Regions from separate parts of the Homo sapiens genome. Here region 2 is linked to region 1. The links are contacts of gene promoters, found by promoter capture Hi-C in blood cells and fetal thymus (Javierre and others, 2016). All regions are on one chromosome and are shown on one strand. The core of a region is centred on a gene start or on the middle of the fragment in contact, and the rest is flanking DNA. Distances in the headings are between cores, read along the strand shown.

What was found. The method cuts DNA at HindIII sites, captures the fragments that hold promoters and counts their contacts. A CHiCAGO score of 5 or more calls a contact.
Region 2: a contact is called between the fragment with the promoter of CYP11A1 here and a fragment that was not itself captured in region 1, in 6 of 17 cell types (endothelial precursors, M1 macrophages, M0 macrophages and 3 more). The highest score is 8.0, in endothelial precursors.

What each region holds. Positions count from the first base shown.
Region 1 is chr15:74,613,514-74,617,276 of GRCh38, forward strand. It overlaps CLK3-AS1 (CLK3 antisense RNA 1), which reads right to left and starts at 2,279. Exons shown (of 9, transcript XR_007064715.1): 1 at 1-2,279. It overlaps CLK3 (CDC like kinase 3), which reads left to right and starts at 2,323. Exons shown (of 13, transcript NM_001130028.2): 1 at 2,323-2,385. RefSeq lists silencers at 1,098-1,417, 1,838-2,377 and enhancers at 2,466-3,077, 3,078-3,688. The HindIII fragment of the contact is 4,168 bases long and covers 210-3,763 here.
Region 2 is chr15:74,365,634-74,369,507 of GRCh38, forward strand. It overlaps CYP11A1 (cytochrome P450 family 11 subfamily A member 1), which reads right to left and starts at 2,013. Exons shown (of 9, transcript NM_000781.3): 1 at 1,684-2,013. The coding sequence starts at 1,952. It overlaps LOC124903524 (a long non-coding RNA gene), which reads left to right. Exons shown (of 2, transcript XR_007064709.1): 2 at 29-3,874. RefSeq lists a silencer at 396-555, a promoter at 1,963-3,874 and enhancers at 2,145-2,169, 3,591-3,713. The HindIII fragment of the contact is 5,873 bases long and covers 1-3,874 here.

The sequences.
Region 1 (3,763 bases), core at 1,044-3,543:
GCAAAGTGTGGAGAGGGAGACAGCTGGGAGATGGCTTCTGTTCCACCTCAGAAAAAGAGAGTTGCTTCGTGGCTGGGAGGTAGGGACTCCTGGATTCTCAGTGGTGGGCAGTTTTGTGGGAAGGTGACTAACTTACCCCATCAGAGCCTATAGCTCAGGGCAGGGCTGGGGACAGAAGCTTCTCTGAGAACATCCATCCCGGGGACAGAAGCTTCTCTGAGAACATCCATCCCTCAGGGCTAGTATCCTGGAGCCATGGAAACTCAGGCAACACTAAGTGGTGGGAGGAGGAGACACCAGAGAGGCCTCCTACTCCACCTCATCTGAGCTGATGAAACCCCGAGATGGAACCTGGCTAGTGTGGTCGAGGCCATGGGTACCAGGCAGGAATGGCATCTCAGATGGCCTGGGATTTTTCAAAATCTTCAGCTTTTGAGATAGGACCTTAGGGGGCAGGACCTCAGCAGCCAATCTGGGTCACCCACTGTACACTGAAGCGGCTCCTAACTTTCTTTTTTGAGACGGAGTTTTGCTCTCTTGCGCAGGCTGCAGTGAAGTGGCGCGATCTCGGCTCACTGCAATCTCTGCCTCCCGGGTTTAAGTGATTCTCCCACCTCAGCCTCCCGAGCATCTGGGACTACAGGCGCGTGCCACCACGTCTAGCTAATTTTTGTATTTTTAGTAGAGACGGGGTTTCGCCATGTTGGCCAGACTGGTCTCGAATTCCTGACCTCAGGTGATCATCCACCTCAGCCTCCCAAAGTACTGGGATTAGAGGGGTGAACCACCGCGCTTGGCCGATTTTTTGTTTATTTTTTGAGACAGGGTCTCCTTCTGTCGACCAGGCTGGAGTGCAGTGGTGTGATCATAGCTCACTGCAATCTCAACCTCCTGGGATCAAGCGATCCTCCTGCCTCAGTCCCCTGCAAGGAGCTGGAACTACAGGCATGCGCCACCCAGTCCGGCTAATTTTTGTAATTTTTTGGAAGGGGACCCAGTTTTGAATTAGCTTCTGTTGTTTACTTCGGATAGCCATGGTGGAGCTGGCAGAGATTTAGGGGATACTAAACACCCCTACAAATCACGCCTTGAAACCCCCCGTTTCAGGGAGAGCCGCTGGCGAAGGACTTGATGCGCAGCCGCAGCTCGGAAGCGGGGGGCTCCCCTGCGACACCTCCCCGCTTCAGGGGCGGGCCCAGACCCGCGGGGAGGGGCATGGGCGGGGCCGCGGCTGGCTGGCGGCCGCCGGGGCGGTGCTGGGGAAACCCTTGGCGCCCCCGCGGAGCGGTCCCAAGGAGGGGGCGGTGCCTGGAGGGATGGTCCGCCCCGACTGCGGGTTTCTAGCCCTCGCGTGGCGTGGGGACAATTAGGCGCCACGCCCTGTCGCTTCACTGCGCGACGCTCGCGAGGCCGGGGACGCCACTCCCAGACCGGGCGGGACGCGCACGCTCACAGTGAGGTCTCAAAAGATCCCCACCTCAGTTTTCTCATCTGGAAAGTGGGGCCTCGTAATCCTGTCCGACCCGGCGCGGGACAGTAGGTGTCAGGGATTTTGGTGACCCCACGCTCGAGGCCTCTGCAAAAGGGGGCTGTCCAGTGGCCCAGAGACGCAGCCGGCGGGGCTTTTGTCTAGCGGGGGAGTCTTAACTGAGAGGCCACGCAGGCCGGCAGGAAGCCGCTCCACAGGAGGGGGCTCAAGGAGAGGGGATCTCCTCCCTCCAGACTCCGGCCCCGCCAGAGTAGCTCTAGGGTATCTTCCCAGAAACTGCCCCGCACGCACTGGCGAGCTGGGAGCGCCACCACGGCTTTCAAAAAACCCGCACACACCAAGATAATAATGTGTCGTTCGCTCGTTTCGCGCAAGCGGAGTCGCGTCCGCCTTCCCGAGCTCCGGCACACAGACCTCAGGCCGCTCTCGCGCTCTCCGGGGCCCCGAGAACAATGCCCGTCCTCTCCGCGCGCAGGAGGGAGTTGGCGGACCACGCGGGGTCGGGGCGACGGAGCGGGCCCAGCCCCACGGCCAGGTCGGGGCCCCACCTCTCGGCTCTGAGAGCCCAGCCGGCCCGGGCCGCGCACCTGTCAGGTCGGGGGACCTACGTGCGCCGCGACACGGCGGGAGGCGGGCCGGGCCAGGCTCGTCCCCTCGGCCCTCCCGGAACTAGTCTCCTAGGCCGCGGCGCCCGCCGGAGCGGAGAGGGCTGGTGCCCCGGAGCCTTCGAGTCGGGGGCTAGAGCGGCCAGGCCTCCGAGCCGGGTCGAGCCGAGGCTGGCGACGGCTGCGTCACGCGAGGGGGCGGGGCTGCCACGGGCGGAGGTCGCAGCCGGAAGCGGAAGAGGCGCTCGGAGCGGGGAGTGGGGCCTAGCTGCAGCCGGAGCCTGGGAGACGGTAAGTGTGGGCTGGGGTCCGCGGCGGCGACAGCGGCGGCGGCGGCCGGGGGTGAGTCGGCGGGGCAGGCGCGCTGGTGCCATTCGGTCTCGGCCTACTCCCTTTCTTTCTCCTCTTCGGCCCATATCGGGCCGCGACCTCTCACCCCTGACCCGCTGCTTCTGCCCCGGAGGGCGGTCACTGCAGACCCTGACCTCGACCCCACGGTGTTGAAGGCGGAGCCTGAACGGCCTCTGGGGCCGCTCAAGGGTCCAGTTTGGGCTCTGTGCCTGCCCGCGGAATGGGGTCGGGGTCCGACGTAGAAGAGCCAGAGAAGCCCTTCAGACCCCTCCCCTACCCCTGGCTTCAGGCTTAGTCCGCAGATGACTCCTCCCTTGGCGGCCTGGAGTTTGATTCTGGCCCAGTCCGGCTTTCCCTCTGTCCCCGGGTCTCCCCTCGGCGCCACTGGTGGCGGTTACAGGGGATGGGACTCTGAGACCCCCTGGGACCTGGGGCGGCAGGAAGGGACGCGAACGAGGGCGCAGGCTCCCCTGTGTGTTTTGTTGTGGTGGTAGAGCCACTCCAGCCCGGAGGATGGGCTAGGCCAAGCTGACAGTTCAAATCCCCTGGCTGCTCCTCCGTCCCGCCCGGGAGTCTCTAGCTTTAGTTCCGGGTGTGGGTGCCCTGATGTGGAGCTGGGGTGGAAATTGCCTGAACCAGGCCCCCATCAGAGGCGGAGTTGGCGGCCTTCCAGCTTCCCTTCTTGATGCCCTTGAAAAGGAGGAGCGTTTCACCGTTGGTGGTGGAGGCTTGCGAGGTGGCAGGTTTGAGGTTGCAGTGGTAGGGCAGTCCAGCCAAAAATAACCATGGGTGCTGGGGTGGCTGGAATCCGGGAGGGCAGCCGCTGACCTGGCTGGCTGCACTTCTAGTCAGCCCAGTTCTCTGGCCAGGAACAGCAAATGAGAAGCCGACAAGGCCTGTGCTCAAAGTTGACATCCTTGGCTTGGTTTTCTTCATATCACCTTTTTCCTCATTGTGCAGAGCAGAGCTTCCCAAAGCATAATTGTGGCCTTTAGCTGCTTTTTAAACAAGCTGTTTGCTGAGGTTTTCGAGAATCAGAGATAATTGAGAAATGGGCCCTAGAGCCCTGGCTGGGAGGATGATATCTGCTATTTCCAATATTTTACTTGCCTAGAATGTGTTAAAGGAAGGATACTCTTCTCTGTTATTGCTTTGTGTGTGGTACCTTATAACTCTCATGCTTGTCATCTCTTTTGCCAGGCTGAGAGATGTTATCTCCATTTTCCAGGCATGCTAACCAAGGCCTAGAGTGACTTGTCTAAGGTCATGAGGCTGGTATGTGACAGCACTAGGATTTAGTTTAGTTTTCTGCCAGAGC
Region 2 (3,874 bases), core at 763-3,262, 250 kb before region 1:
CTTTCCCTTTTACCCACCACCATCCCAGGCCTGGAAGAAGATCAGAAGTTGGACAGGAGAGGTCCGGCCGCGCGGACGTCACCTTAGCGCGCCACTGTCGGCTCCGGTGGGCTCGGGTGAGCTCGGGTGAACGCAGCGAGCGAGGGCAGAGGCCAGCAGAGGCGAGGAGTGGATGCTGCAGGGCCGCAGGCCGGGCAGAGAAACGCATACCGGGTCGCTCCCTGCTTCGCCGCCGCCTCCTGGCAGGGCCAGCGAAGCCAGTGCTCCAGCGCCCCCGTAACACCTCAAAGCGCACGGAGTCCGTGTTGGGGAACTTGGCGGCAGAGTGACTGGGACCTAGGACCTGCGGTGGGGCCGCCGCCGCCTCCGCGGGGCCGAGCGCCTGGACCTCGCCCTGAGGTAAACGCGGGTCGACCCGGGGGGCGGATGGGCTCGGGCTGTGTCGAGGGGAGGCGGAGGTGAGCGACCCGCGAAGAGCGCAGGAGCAGGCCGGGGGCCACGCTAGGGCGGACCCAATTTCGGAATAGCGCGGCCCGGGCGGCGGCGTGCGCTGGGAGGAATGCTGGGTCTGTCGCTAGCGCCAAACTTGACCACGCTGCGACCTTTTCACTCTGTGCTCTGACCTTCAAATCTCCCTCCCCCGATTTTTTTTTTTTTTTTTTTTTTGAGACAGAGTTTCGCTTTTGTTGCCCAGGGCGGGAGTGCAGTGACATGATCTCGGCTCACTGCAACCTCCACCTCCTGGGTTCGGGCGAGTGTCCTGCCTCAGCCTCCCGAGTAGCTGGGATTATAGACCCCCGCCACCATGCCCGGCTAATTTTTTTTATTTTATTTATTTATTTATTTATTTATTTATTTATTTTTGTAGTAGAGACAGGGTTTCACCATGTTGGCCGGGTTGATCTCGAACTCCTGTCCTCAAGTGATCCGCCTGCCTCAGCCTCCCAAAGTGCTGGGATTACAAGCGTGAGCCACCGCACCCGGCCTTCTCCCAATTTTTAAAACTCGCTGGCTGGGCTGACAGCTACAGGGCCAGGAATTCAAAACTTAGCCTCACCAGTCTCCCCTCCTCAGACCGAGGAGGTTGTTTTGTTTTGTTTGAGACAGAATCTCACTCTGTCGCCCAGGCTGGATTGCAATGGTGCGATCTCGGCTCACTGCAACCTCTGCCTCTCCGGTTCAAGCCATTCTCCTGCTTCAGCCTCCCGAGTAGCTGGGATTACAGGCGCCTGCCACCACACCCAGCTAATTTTTGTATTTTTAGTAGAGACGGGGTTTCATCATGTTGGCCAGGATGGTCTCGAACTCTTGATCTCAAGTGATCCGCCCACCTCGGCCTCCCAAAGTGCTGGGATTATGGGTGTGAGCCACCATGCCTGGCCAGACCTGGGGTTTGGACCCATTAAAGAGCTTCCTTACAGATGGCTGGCGGTCTTGCCACCAATTGTTTCAAAAGTAGATGTCTGGTTTAGAGTACTTAAGACATTCACAGATTCAAATGTTGAATTTTGAAATATCCCTGATATATTTCTGTATTGTATTACCAAAAAAAAAAAAAAAAAAGAAGTTAGACAGGAGTTTGGAACCAGAGAACAGCCTGTTGGGGGAGTGGGGACTACAGCAGGGCTACCCAGGCCCCTCCTCCTCCCTGTCCCTTCGGCTCCCACCCTCTGCCAGGCTTACCTGTAAATCGGGCCATACTTCTGGAAATTCTGGACATGGTGAAGGTGGACTTTGTGTGTGCCCGTCTCCCTCCAGAAATGGTACAGGTTTAGCCAGCCATTGTCACCAGGAGAGGGGATCTCATTGAAGGGGCGAGGACTGCGGGTGGAGATGCCAGCTCCCTCGCCAGTGGGCACCCTGAGACGCCCCAGCCCCTCCCTGGGGGCACTCAGAAAGGTCTGGCAGCCTTTGACCAGGACTGAGCGTGGGGGAAGACCCTTGGCCAGCATGCTGTCCCCACAGCTGTGACTGTACCTGCTCCACTTCAGCGGGGACTGCTAGGATGACTGTAGCCCTGGGCCACCAGGGCCAAGATTATAACTACCAGCTCAAGGCCATACCAGAAGCTGATAAAATGTTCACGTCCTTCCTCCTGCTGCAGGCTCAAACCCGCAGACAGCTCCTCCCCTACTCGGTATGAAGGTTCAGTCTGGAATTTCTGCAGCGTGAGGTTCTCCAAAGGACAGGGAGACCCCTCTGTCTCTGCCCTCAGTGCCAGCCCTAGCAGACTCCTGAAATATCTGCCTGTGCTTTTGCCTGAGCTGGGGCCTCCCACTGGCCCCTGCAGCGGAGTCCATGCCCTGGCAGCCATTGGTCAAGACTGCAGACAACCTGTGTTTGGGGGAAATGAGGGGCCCAAGAGAAGGTCAGAGCTATCTTGCCAGCTTGGGCAACATACGTCTTAGTTATGGCCCCACTGTATAGACACACATCATTGAACAACAGGGATAAGTTCTGAGAAATGCATCCTTAGGCTATTTTATTTTATTTTATTTTATTTTATTTTATTTTATTTTAAGAGAGTTTCATTCTTGTTGCCCAGGCTGGAGCGCAATGGCACAGTTTCACCTTGGAACCCTAATCCTCGTCGTCTCTCCCCAGTTGACCCAGATTTGGGGCTGTAATTCAGTACAGCTGACTCAGAGGGGCTCTGGGTCCCTTGAGCTGAGGTCTGTGGTCAGGCTCCACTCTGGACACACTCTAAGACCTTGGCAAATCTGGTTGCCATGGAACTCAGGATGTCAGCTCTTCCCTGTCCACACACTTGATCTGTGCTGCTTTCCCCTCAGAGCTGCTTCCATACCCCCTCCCATCATATCATATCCCCAGACCCATCCTTCCAGCCCAGGTCAGCCCCCACACCCACCCCCCATCACCCTGCACCTACCACTTTCCCAAACAACAAGGGTCAGTCACCTGTAGAGTTTTCAAGTCATTTCAACAAAATTACAGCCCACTTGGTAAAAATGTGTAGGTCAGAAAACATACATGTGCCATGTAGAGCATTTCATGACAGCAATCTACACTATACCTTATACTTATCATTGGAAGGTACAACTTCTTGCTTTTTTTCCCCAAAATCTTATTTTCTGGCAAATAAGGCATTTAAAACACACATCTAAGAGACAGAAAATAGACTGGTGGTTGCTTAGAGCTAGGGGGATAGAGGAATTAGAGGATGGGACATAAAGTGTGTAGGGATTCTTAGGATGATGAAAATGAAAATATTCTAAAGTATATTGTGGTAATTATTGAACAACTCTCTGATACACTAAAAGCCATTGAATTGCATACTTTAAATGGGTGAATTGTATGGTGTGTGAATTATATCTCAATAGAGCTGTTACCAAACACACACACACACACACACACACGAGTGACATCCTCCTGGCCTCTTCTGTTGTATGTGTCAGCCCATAGATCACCCACAATGGCAAAAGTTGTCCTTACACAGCCACTTGACCCCAGACTCCAATACTGTTGAACCACTTTCAACAAATTTAGAGCAACAGTTTTTAGAAGAAAAAAAAAAAGTACTTATCAAGAGTGGTTGTTGCTCTTCCCGCTGGAGTGACCACTACCTCATCAGTCATGAACCTTCTGATAAAGAGAGTATGGAGAAAGCCTGTTTTGCCTCACTGATGACCTTGAGCCTGGAATGACATCAGCCAAGGAAGGCAGTGTCTCACGAGCAGCGGCAGGGTGATGAGCTTCCACAAAGAAAAGCAGTCTTCCAAGGACTAGTTTTTCCTCCAAGGGTCTCAGCACTGAGGTGACATTTATAACTTTCTGACTTAAAGTCAATCCCATTGTTCTACGCAGCCCCACATTCCTCCCTCAGAAGGAGCCCTAATCGATGTGGCATGGAAGA